Linked DNA regions of Homo sapiens: region 1 is linked to region 2. Evidence: promoter capture Hi-C in human tissues and cell types (Jung and others, 2019). All regions are on one chromosome and are shown on one strand. Each heading gives the region's core, a stretch centred on a gene start or on the middle of the fragment in contact. The rest is flanking DNA. Distances are from core to core; before and after follow the strand shown.

Region 1 (6,656 bases), core at 3,332-5,831, 780 kb before region 2:
AAATAATAGTTCTAGGTCTTCTTGAAGGATTGTTTAGAAGTCTCCAAGAAAAATAATGAGATCTATCTAAAATAGAGCTGTTCAATTTTATGTGGAACTTAGTGAAGGCTGTCTTCATTTGCATTGTGTGTTATGACAGTGGTCTGGCTGGAACTGGCAGGGGGAAGAGCCTCATTATTTGAAGGAACTTCACTGGTCATCCATTCCTACCACCACTGGATGCAGGAATCCATGCTACAGTATCTTTGACTGGCACCCAGGAATGATGGTCACCTGCCAGACCCCAGACCCAGACTATGGTGTGGGCAGGCTCAGTAGATTTTACTGGATGATTATTAATTTAGAGCAGTAAGAACTGGCAGATCTAGTGAAACTTACTCTGAGGGGAGGGCTCAGTTTCTCCAGTTTCTCTTTGTAGGAAAATAAAAATAAAATGAGCCAATTTCTAGAGACAAAATCACCTATAAAAAGATCAGAACTGAAGATTTTTTTTGTTGAGATGCTATAAAAATGGATGAAAAGCAACCGTTCCTCCCCTACCCCCAAAAAGAATTAAGGCAATTCAGAAAGTTTGGATGAGCCACAAGGACACCATTCTGACGTATTCTGCATGTTCTAGGCCTCCTTATGTCAGGGCTGGGGTCTGTCTTGCTGGAGGAAAATTTATTTTTGAAGATAAAAGCTTCAGTGAATTCTTTAAATATCTGTCTTTTAAAGAGCACAGATTTCTGGGGGGCCCATTTAAATTTGGATTTGCCTTGTACTCAGTGTAAAATATTAGTACAAAAATATAAAAGGCATGGCTTGATGTTTAACGTGTGTTTTATTGTTGTTGGCACCAGAAAAGCTCATGTTCTATGTTATGTCACTGTACATACTGTAAACAAGACTGCATTAATATTGTTTTCTTATGATTTGTTTCAATGACTCTAGATTTTAAAAAATACATTCACAAACTACCTTATGTTTAAACACAATGATTCCCTTTTATTTCTTAACTGTACCCAAAATCCCACAATAAAAAAATCATTTAAAGCTGTGTGTTTCAAACTTATCACTTAGAAATAAAAACAAAACAAAACATAAAAACAAAGATCAGTTTGCAACATAATTTAAAGAAGCTTCTGGTTTAAAATACCACAGCAGCAATATAAAGAGCTGGTGGCAATCACATTCGGGAGTGAAATCGAAATCAATATATTTTGTCCACATCAGCATCCAATTACAGTAGTTGTTAAATTCAATCCAAAAAGTTATTGCTGAATTTGTGGCATGGAATTTGAGAAGATAGTATTGTTCAGCAGCACAACCACAGCAGTAAAAATGAGAACAGGAGGATTTCATTGCTTTTGAGAGCTAAAGGGACCATGAGGAGGATATCTTGCTGATTGCCTGAAGATAATCCTCAGTTACATTCCTGCATATTACCTGCTTTAAATAAATGCAAATGACAACCACCTTTTCAGGAGGGGCATAATAATGTAATCCAGAAACTAGAATGTTTCCCCTTCTCTTCCCCATCTTGCCCAAACCACTAGATTGAAATGGCTCCATTTTCCTAATGTGTATTTCGTTCTCATTAATAGTACATCAGCTGCTTGTGTATTTAGGCAAAGTCAGTAAGATCGTAGTTTTTTTTGTTGTTGTTGTTCCATTTACAGTAATTATTTTCTCCAGAAACAAGCCACATTAGTTTTTGTCATTGGATTCCCCCCACTTCCAATTTTTTAAGAAGAAAAATTTGGTCAACTACTGTTTCGTTTTAAAAATGTTAAATGCACCTGAGATTGCCGGTTGAGCTCTCTATATGTCTCCTGGAGATAACACTGCTGTGATGAACAGTGAAACAAAAACAAACAAAACGAGGTAGGTTAAAACAGGAAGCGCAACACAGATATTGTTTGCAACACCTCGATACCACAGGCGGCCATGCTTGTAGCTTTGGAAAAAAAAAATCCCAGTCGCATAAAAGTTCAAATCATTTGAGTAAGAGTTTATAAGGACACAAGTCAACCTGAACTAAATACATACATACTTCTGCACAAATGTTGTTTACCGTATGTTGGGTAATTTGGAGGAAGGTAAAGTGATTAGGGTCTCAAAATTTTGTCCAAAGCCTTGCTTTCAAGTTCTCTAAAATTGGAGCCAATGATGCCTCTTGTATCTGAGGCAGGCTTAGGAGTCTAGTCCCTTCTCTCACCCACACAGGGAGAACACAGGCAGCTCAGAAACATTTATTATTAATTTTTTCAGTCACAGTTTTCATCTTGAGAAAGTGGCACCCTCGGGAGAGCGCTGGGAATGTTCAGAGCCTGAATATCATCCACTCTCCAAGTCCCAGAAAGAACTCAACAAAGTCTCAGTCCTAATGAAGCCCAAACCAAGTGACCTCTTAGCTGGGAGGCTTTGTGCATTTTAAAAAAGACTATGTAAGCTTGTTTCCCAGAAGCTCTTTCTGTCTGACCCCATCTGTCATCCCATCTTTTTCCCTGATCTGTTGCATAATAGCTGAGGGAAAGTTGTGTTAGAGTGTCCCTCCATCGCTAGGCCAGCTCAACTCAATGGCGTTAGTATCCTGTTCAACACACTCCATTCTGTAAAGGGCCATATAAAAATGTGGCCTGTCAGATTCACAAAAGTGGTAGTTGATTTTATTAGACTAGTAGTTTTAAGGCTAGTAGTTTAGCCATTTAAAATCTATTTCCCAAAAGAGGGGAAAACTAGTATTTTTCTTCTCTTTTTAAAAATTCATTAGCCAGTTGCTATCAAAAAGCAACCTTTTGGGTTGGTGAAGGCAAGAGAGTTCTTAAATTACTCCACTATGTAGTTATGGCCTTCAGCCTAAGGAGATAAGGTACATTTATTGTGCTGTCTCTCATCATTGGAAATTTTACAACATACCATATACTTAAAACTAGTAGGCAGACAGAATTTAAAAGACTCATTTTCGCAGTATGCATTCTTTCCCCATTCTTGCAGAGTAAAGGGGTAAAGAAAAAAGGTAAAAACCTGAAAACCCACCATAACACAGCTTAATCGTTAAGAGCACACAATATTTGTTTCTATCCCTAATTCCGAAGGGCACATGGTCCATCTTTGTCCACAGACAAGGCAGCATTCTTGGGGATCTCCTGGAAATTCCTGCCACCTTTTTCTCTCCTTCTCAACCAGGCTGCAACATTGAAAGATGGACTGTACTGGGAGGGGCGGAGGGAGAGGAAAAAGGGAAAGCGATATGTTCAACCAAGCCTTCTGATTCTGCCTCTAGACTGGCATAAGTCCACATGAGTTATGTTCTTTTAAATTAGAAATAACGCCATGAAGATAAGTGCCAAGTGCTCTTCTGTTACCAGTTCATCATGGAATTTCTGTTGAGGGTCATGAAAAACACTTGGCTACTTCCTCCAGATCGCACGGATGCAAAAAATACCTGTTTGAAATTAAAAAGAAGTTAGTTCAACTGCATGGTCTTTTCCCCTCTTTTCTTCAACCGTCCATCCATTTTCTCTCACATGTCCTATCCTTGCCATGTGTCAGGTCTTAAGACTCAATGGCTTGTGTTTATAAAGTCCCTTTGGATATCGTGCATCCTATGTAAAAACTCCTGCCTTTATTCCTAGGTTGTTATTATTCCTTATTGTGGTATTGGTCTCCAGAGATGCTGAAGGGGCTATATCTTCATTTGTAACATCTCTTTGGGTGTTCACTTTTTAAAAGGGAGTTTCATGCTAGGATAACGTGCTGGATTTCTGGTCTAGGACCCAACAGGTTCTTTGTTAATTTCTAGAAAGGCACAGAAGCTTCCCTTCTCTCACCCTTAAATGACAAGAAAGTAGACTTCAGGATGGAAGGGAATCCCTTCAAATTCTCAAAGTCAAGGGGGAGTTTTAGGCCTACTGACTATCATACAGTTTCAGATTTCAGTTTTTTAAATTTAAGATAAAAACATTAAATAGTGTGGTCAGATAGGGCAAGGTATTTAATGCCTACTCATTTTGGCATTTCAAGAGTTAACGCATGGTTTCTCTGCTGATGGTGGCATATCCCAGGGCAAATGAGATCATAGCATTAATGAGGAGAACCACAGTCCATTAGGTCTGAGTCTGTTAAGTCATTTTATCAAACAACTGACAAACGTGAGAAAAATTTGGGTTACTGCTTGCTTGAGCTGAATGTTTAATGTTAAAGAACCACTGCCCCAGGAAAGTAATATTTTGGGCTATGGCCTAGCCCTTCAGTCAGTCAATACCTAACTTTTGTTAGGTAGTTGCTTTTGTCACTAGTCTAAAGTCTCTGCTACTTCATTTCTACAGCTTCTTCAGAAGAATGCTAACAACAACTTCTTAGGGAGGTCTCTGGAAATGCTTGACATTCACCTAATGCTGCATATGAAAGTAATGCTACTCTTAGGGTCAATGAATCAAAACGGAGAAGGACAGAGAGGGCCTATGGAAAACCACAATGAAGAAAAGAAAGGGCTGCTCTTCCCTCCAAGTTGTGTGCCCCTGGCTGTAAACCTTGGGTTGCAGACAACTGGTGTGGCCCCAGCCTACTCCTAAGGGTGTGGCATGGCTTGGAACAGCCCTGCTGGGGTAGGTTTTCAATCGGAATGTGGGTATCCATACCCAGATCACTCCTGGTTTTTTGATTCTTAGAGACTGGGTGGGAGCTGGAGTTTTACTAGGTTATGTTTGTTTTCTGGGAAATCTAAATGGCTGGAACCATCTTTGCCACCTGCAGCTACTGTCCACCCAGACCACATCAGGTCAGAGTAGTGGGCCAGGGTTGAATATAGTTTAGGCCCACATCACCAGGTTTGGACTAAGACCAACCTGACCTTTGGGGAACTGGGGTGGACAAAGGGATATACAAAAATTCAACCCATCATACTGTTTTTCTATAGGCGTTTATGTCTGTGGCTTTGGGGACAGCATTTCTATGTTGGCCACAGCCACAAAGGATGAATTCACAAATGCAGTATGGCTTAGCTACTAAAACCTCGGGGTTACTCTACAGGGAGGGTAAGGGAGAAGCAGTACTGCTGCAGAATACCCCTCTGAGGTCACTGATCATGCCAGACGGACACAGCCAATTTCACTGGAAAACAGTTCACCTATGACATTTCAGAAGAAACATGGCTGGAATGACACAAGACATGGCACTAGTTGAGTTTGTGATTGTGCATTCCTTAAGGAATGGGTGACATTTTTAAAAAGCTTATATTTCTAAACGTCAAATGTTTTGGATTTAAAGGTGAATATAAGGTGATTGGTTAGGTCTTGAAAGTGACTTTGTGAAAAGTCTAAAAGTGGAAGTATAAAGTTGACCCACTGTGAGATGATTAATGATGGGCCAACTGCTCTAAGTGCTTAGGAGAATTTGGGGTGTCTGCTGAGTCATCAAAAGGCCTTTAGGCCACAAAGGTTTCTAAGAGGTTTACAAGAAATTTCTAAATGTTTTTATGTAGTTTTTGACATGTGAATAATATATTGAGTGCTCACATGGATCAAACCAAATAATGCCATTTCAAGATAATATTGATTGTTTAACACAGATGTGATTCAAATCAGTATAAAGGAAAATGAAGGTTTCACAGGTACCTGGTGGTCTCTTAAAATGCAAACACTAATGCAAATGTTGAAACGGATTTACCTTATCATTTCTTTCACATAGAAACTTTAACCTTTGAGCTCGCTTATGCATAAATACTCCATCCAAATGTCCTGTTTCCACTGACCGGATCTCAATAGCTTTCTCGCCCCAGCCCATTATCTGATTGGAATGAATGTAGGCTGTCAAAAGGAATTTCCAAAACTGCATTAAAAACATTAGATGGGCAATAACTCACAGCATCTGTTCACATCTTAACCACAAAAATGACAAACGACTTGAGATAAATGGACAAAGCAAGTCTTACAAGAGTTATTCACAGATTTTTTTTTTTTTTTTTTTGTGGAATCAAATGGTTGTTTCACATTTCTTGATTTTCGTTTCATTTGGGGGGTGTAACTGCTGAAGGAGATAAGGAATGGTTAACCTACCCACAGACGTGGGCATTTCTCCCCATTGGAGCACCACATCCTTAGTTATCCGGCCATAGGTGTTTACATACACCCCCTCATCCTCATAGCAAACAAGCATTTCCATTCCATCTGTTTTAGGCAAGATGACAATAGCATGAGGAGTGATATTGCCCTGAATCTAGAAGACAAAGAAAAGCCAAGCATTATTCTTTTAAAAAATAAAACACCTTGACTATTCATCTCTAACAACTGCAAAAAAGAGGTTTTTGTTTATTTTCATTGTCACCCTAAAGACTGAAATTTGCTTTAATTTAACCACTGACTTGTAAAATACCCTGGTAAATCAAACTTAGTCACTAGATTAAAAATTCAATTTACCTGTTCCTAAAAAGAGCATGTAAATCTATGGCACACCTACTATGTGCCAGTCATGGGGCCCTTTACATATATAATTTCTAGTACCTACAATAGCTCCCCAAGGTAGATAGCTTTGTTTACAGATGAGGAAACTGCATCTCAGAAGGGCTTTGTGTCTTAACCAAAGTTGTGCTAGTATTTGTTGGTAGAGTTGGGATTTGTGTATATCTTGCTGACGTTGAAATTAATGTGTTTTCTATTAGCACAACCACTTCC
Region 2 (6,151 bases), core at 1,883-4,382:
GAGTGTTAATTTTTCTAATTTTTTCATTCCTTTTGTATGCATTAGATAGAATATTCAATATCTGGGTCTTTCTGACACCAAAGCTCATACTCTTTCTAGGACACGAGCTACCTTTTTAATACATAAACAAATAAAGCTAGTCATCTGAAGCTGCTAGGAAAAGAAAACATTTTAATTTCATCTCTCGTTTGGAGCTGCATTATCTTTTAACTTGGCAAAAATGAACTCCTTCCATAGCTTTGAAACCTACTTTAAAAATCCCAAGACTATAGCCCCCACAGAGCTGTTATTTTTAAGGCTCACATGTGAAGGAATGTATTTTAAAGAGGTAGAGAATGTTCATATCAGGTTCCCTCTCTCCGCATCACTGATGTTCTTCCACTTCTTTGAGTGTCTAATTTTGCTTGACTGATTTATTGATTGATGATTTCTTGTGTTTGGTGTGGAGGGGGGAACATTGGAATAAAAATGTCAATTTGGGCTTTCTGTTTGTTTTCAGTGGCAAAACTGGCTTGAAGTGTTTGGTGAAGCTACCGCCTTTTTCCCTGAGCCAAGATCCTGGGATCCCCTGGGTTGAGGAGAAGGTGGAGTCTGCAAAGCAGCCTACAGCGACCTTGACACCACCACCTCCTAGGAGAACTTGCAGGCCCAACTTGCAGTCAGTTAGTGCCACGTGGGATGACTAGAGGGAGCAGGGGCCCTATAAACCTTGCTGGCTGCCAGGACATGGGCACACAGACACGGCTGATCAGAGAGGAAGCCCAAGACAGAAGCAGTGACACTTTCTTTTCTTTCCTAGTAGCTGCTCTCACTGAAAATGTCCTTTTTTTAATGAAATTAGTGGGACTAGATTCCTGCGGGAAAACACACAGAGAGAAACCCTATTCTACCTCTCTTCCTTCTCTTTGTTATATTAAGTGGCAACAGCTCCTCTAATCACTAATAAATTCAGGTTTATAAGTCACAATAGCAGTGTCAGGGTTAGGCTGTGAGTGTTACAGGCACTTAAAAGGTCCTTCAAGTTAAAACAAAAAATACTCTCTTTGTTTGCCATCTTTGTACTGTTTAACATGAGTATTTCAACAGTCTTTATTTTCCAAACATGCAAACAGGAGAGAGTGATCTGACCCACAGCATATTGACATACCATCTAGCTATAACCTTGAGATAAAAAGTAAAGGAAAAAGTCAAAACAGCTCAAACCAAATACTAATACAAACAAGTCTTTCTTCACTCTCGACCCCTTCCCCCCCCATATCAGTGGAACAAACTAGCATCAACACTCATTGACGGTGGTGGATTCACATGGCTCTATACTTGTGCAGCTTCAGGGGGACAGGAGAGCCCAAATACAAAGGGGAAAGTTTAATGTATTAATCAACTAATTCAACAAATACTTATTACTATATGTATCTGCTCTGATGCAGACAAGGTTGTAGACGCTGGGAATATCTCATACATTTAAGGGATGTATAAGACTTGCAAGGTCTCTGCCCTTGTGAAATTTATCTAGTGGTGTTAGAAAAAAAAAATCAGAGAATATAGCCCACAGTGTTGAGAGGAGATAAGAAATAGCAGCTGTACCAGAAAGCATGAGTTGGTTTCCTGGATTCTGTATATCCAGGAATGCAACTGCTTCAAAATCTGGGTCAAACTGTGGAATGGCTATTAAAGACAGAAAGGCAGAAAGAAAAAAAGCAGAGAATCAGAGAGAAGCTTCTCTTTCCACCACATATGGGAGGGTCCTTTGGGAGTTTTTACCAAATTGTTCAGGAAGAGTTAAACATGATGTTTTTAAGGTGATGAATTTAAAAAAAAACCACAATAAGTGCACCTTTGTCCCACGATGGAAGGACCCCAAAGGTGGAACATCCCAATTTAACAAGAGTAACTTTCTGAACATCTTCGTTATGCTAAACTCTGGGCTAGGCATTTATGGTTTTAGCTCATTTAATCCTCTCAACCAAATCCATTAAAGATAAACACTAACTTTTATTCCCATTTCGCATACGAATAAATAGACCTAGAGAAGTTAAGTAACTTGCCCTTACTCAAGGACACAAACCTGGTAGAGAGTGGAACCAGAATCGGATCACAGCTCCATCTGACTCAAAATCGATGTCCTAAACCACTTCATTTGCATTCATAAAATTATTTTTCATCCTTTTATTTCAGTAAAAAGGAATAATGTATTAATGTTAAATAGGAAAATTATTCAGATGGCTTCAGAAACTGACCTGTGTTTTTAAGATATTTTTTTGAACAGACATCCACATATATCCAATCAGTCAAAATCAAATAACACCATTTTCTCAAATGCATGAAAAAGTAAGAGATGACTTGTAACTGCCTAAATGTACCTAAGTTCAATATCTCAAATTAGAATTATGATTCAAGAATGAATGGGGATCAGCATTTTATTCAACTGATGAATTGCTCCTCAAAGTTTATTTTATTTTATAACTGCATACATTTCCATCATCACACTTTAATTGAAAATTAAATTAATAGTAAAATAAGGTGAAACTGGTTTAGTGAAAACAATGCAAAACTCCATAATAAAGTTCATGCCCATTTGGGAATGAATCCATATCAAAAATCTTTATCAAAAATAATTGTAGTGGAATTAAACTTTGAAAGGAGGTGAAGGTCTTGCTTTGGGTTGAAATCATTTAAATTAAATATAATGAAAAGTGACCAGGGTGCTTATTTTTACTTTGTTTTGTGGGAAATTGTGCTGGGAATGTGGATCTATTGTACACAAAGGATGTTGGCTTTATGCTGGAACCACTAGGCAGGTTGAGTTGAGAAACAATTAGCTCAGTCAGCAAGCCTTTGAATCTGATTAAGCCAGGAAGTGGTCACTCCCCAGGACAGGGCAGAATGAAGGGAATCAAGGCAGCAATCCAAAGCAAGGGATAATTTTTTTCTCTCTTTCTCTTAAATAAATTGTTATTAGAATTTATTGTGTCAAATTTATGCCAAGGACTATTTGAGTACATTTCATCTTTGGTAAAACAAATAGAATCTTGTTTCCAAGTAGATCAACAGTTCGTATGTGTCGTGGCTACTGTCTCTAAGAAACTTCTATTTACTGAGGCCTGTCATACGCTCATGTTTTGGTAACAAAACATCTTTGAGACCAAGGCCTCAAGCCACCAAGGAAAATGAAGGGCCTCTACCAGGCTGCTGGCCGGATTCTTGTTACTCTGGGGATCCTCAGTGTATGCTCTGGAGTTATTGCTTTCTTTCCTGTCTTTTCTTACAAGCCTTGGTTCACAGGATGGAGTGTTCGAATTGCTTGTCCTATCTGGAATGGAGCTTTGGTATGAAAATAGTTTATTAAATATATTGAGAAAATAAAAGAAGGTGGGAGGGAAAGGGAAAACAGAAGAACATATCCTTTTAAATTGTTCTAACAATACAAAGAAGTCAAAATTCCACAAAAAATCAGAATCCGCCTTGGAACATTGATTTCTATTAATTGCATTTTAAGTATAAAAATGATCTTAATATTGTTTTATCATGTATACATGTATATTATGTATTTTTAATGACATGCTGCTCAAGAAATTCTTAAAAAGTTATTTTATTTTAATCCACTTAACTTGATATGCTAAGAAATTAGAATCTTTTGAAATGTGAATTTTGAATTTAGAAAAAAACATAAACCTTGAAAAGTAATTTTAAAATACAGAACAAAGTAAAATAATTTTCAAACTAATGCTTTCATTGCAAACACTAAGATGTACATGGCCCCAAAATTTACAAACCCCAAATATTTGTTTTTCCACCTTTCTCTTGCAAGCAACTGTTTGAACTGAAAATAACTCAATAATTTTCAATTATTTGAAAATAATTCAAATAATTCAATAATTCAAGATGGACTTCACAATTCACTAGGAAAGTACATGTGCCAAGTACAGCGTACGACACTAAGTAGTACTCCGTGTGCGCTCATTGAATCATTGCACAGATAAACGATTGGCCTGGTCCCTTAGCTCTCCAACCAAAAAAAAATGGGCACATCTAGTCTTGGGAGTAACTGGCTTCCATGCTGGTATGATTTAAGAGAAGTTACAGAGACCCACCTGTCCAACAAATCCTTCTCTCATTGATTCCTGTGACGCCTGACACTACTGGAGACTGGAGAATTCAATATTGAAGCTTTTTGATCTTAAGGAATCTTCTATTAAAATGTAGCCACTTGGCCGGGCATGGTGGCTCACGCTTGTAATCCCAGCACTTTGGGAAGCCAAGGGGAGCGGATCACGAGGTCAGGAGTTCGAGACCAGCCTGACCAACATGGCGAAACCCCGTCACTACTAAAAATACAAAAATTAGCTAGGCGTGGTGGCATGCACCTGTAATCCCAGCTACTCAGGAGACTGAGGCAGGAGAATCACATGAACCTGGGAGGCAGAGTTTGCAGTGAGCCGAGATCATACCACTGCACTCCAGCCTGGGTGACAGAGCAAGACTCCATCTCAAAACAAACAAACAAAATGTAGCCACTGTTGTGTGAGATAGTATCTTAAATCTTTAAAAAGTTAAAACTTTAACTGAGATACCACCTAAAAACTAGACCTCAGGAAATATAAATTTTAATCTACTTATTAGATAAATATTTATGAATAGCCCCCTATGTCGTTGAGTTACAATGAAGGATCCAACAAGGTCTTCATCTTAAAGGAACTTGGTCTAGTGGGGTTTGATGAATGTGTGCAGATAGACGGAAGCCAGTGGGATTATGGGAGAGTCGATGGAATGAGGAAACCACAGGGTTATCTTTCTCTTTCTCAGTTTTTTTTTCTTTTTCAATACATTCTTTTGCATCTATCACCCCAATCTTGATCTTCCCTTCTTTTCTCCAACACCTACCTGAAACCACAATTCATTCAAAGAAATATTTGTTTAAGTTCTACTGGAATGCAGAGATGGCAGTTACACTTATTCAAGTGGCTTCCAAACTTTTTTTTGGTGACTCAGAGTCAGAAAAATATTTTAGGTGAGGACCCAGAATGTACATAAATACATCTACATTCTTCTCTCTAGATAAATAGATATCTACATCTATTATGTATATACATGTATAGTAGATGTTTATATATCTATAAAACAAAAGTTGCTCAAAATAGTACTTACCCTCTATGTGAAACATATTCTGATATTTTCTATTTCATTTAATTTTTTTAAAAATTCTGATTTCACAAAGTTTAACAATATCATGATTAGAGTTCAACCCTACATTCTTTTGTTACAGCTGTTTGCCTATCCTTTCAGACTGCAACATAATACATTAAACAAATATTGGTGATTTTGATTAAGATTACAGATGATTGAATGTATTGTTCTAGGCCAAACATCTATTTTTACCAGTTAGGCCCGGAGAAATGATATGATGTGTCTCCAGCACATAGTTAATTGGTAACTGTTTGATTTCAGAGGTGGCAGCATCAGGAAATGGAGTCAGAGATAAAGGATTTAGAGAAGTGGACCTGTTTTCAAGTCCTGACTTTGATGTTCTTGGTAGGAGGTCAAAAGCAGGACCCTCAGCCAGCCAGTTCCTCATTCCCTTTATCTGTAAAATGGGGAATTTTACAGATAAAAAGAGCCCACGTGTAAAACTGTCCAACCCTAAGATGCACAGTGAGAAGGAACACAATTTAAACAAAGATTGTATAATAAAGAGCTTTGCCAATTTTAAAGCCCTCTTCAAATGCTAGTTAATACTATGCCTTTCATTTGTGCCCTACTCTCTGTTCAAGCCCTTTGTTCTTAATCCTGTGTCACCCACCTCACTTTCCTATCCTACTCCCTCGTAACCTGCTGAGTTCTCCATCCTGTTACTTCCTGGACTTCATCTCCTACCACTCTTCCCTTAGGTCACTTCTCTCCCATCACATTGGCTCCTTGCAGTTTTCAAACATGCCATGATGTGTTTCTGCCTCAGGGCCTTTGCACTACCTGCCCTCTGCCTAAAGCCTCTTCCTGAACTTGGCTCACTCCCTAGTCTCCTTCAATTCTTGATTAATTCTTTATCAAACAACACTTTTTTATGGAGGTTTGCTCCCATTACACTATTTAAAATTGTAATCCCCTGACCCCAACTGGTGTTCCCAATCTCTGATACCCTGCTCTATTTTTTCCT

Evidence for each region. The method cuts DNA at HindIII sites, captures the fragments that hold promoters and counts their contacts. A contact is called where the count stands out against the background at its distance.
Region 1: a fragment that was not itself captured here is called in contact with the fragment with the promoter of TMEM212 in region 2 in 1 of the 25 tissues and cell types used here (H1 embryonic stem cells).

Annotation. Positions count from the first base shown.
Region 1 is chr3:171,060,535-171,067,190 of GRCh38, forward strand. It overlaps TNIK (TRAF2 and NCK interacting kinase), which reads right to left. Exons shown (of 33, transcript NM_015028.4): 31 at 6,042-6,201; 32 at 5,653-5,792; 33 at 1-3,430. The coding sequence ends at 3,347. Among named protein-coding and RNA genes, the nearest start is that of SLC2A2, 37 kb to the left of the region's middle. RefSeq lists an enhancer at 1,136-1,714. The HindIII fragment of the contact is 5,608 bases long and covers 1,778-6,656 here.
Region 2 is chr3:171,840,217-171,846,367 of GRCh38, forward strand. TMEM212 (transmembrane protein 212) reads left to right here and starts at 3,133. Exons shown (of 5, transcript NM_001164436.2): 1 at 3,133-3,326. The coding sequence starts at 3,168. The HindIII fragment of the contact is 5,921 bases long and covers 2,942-6,151 here.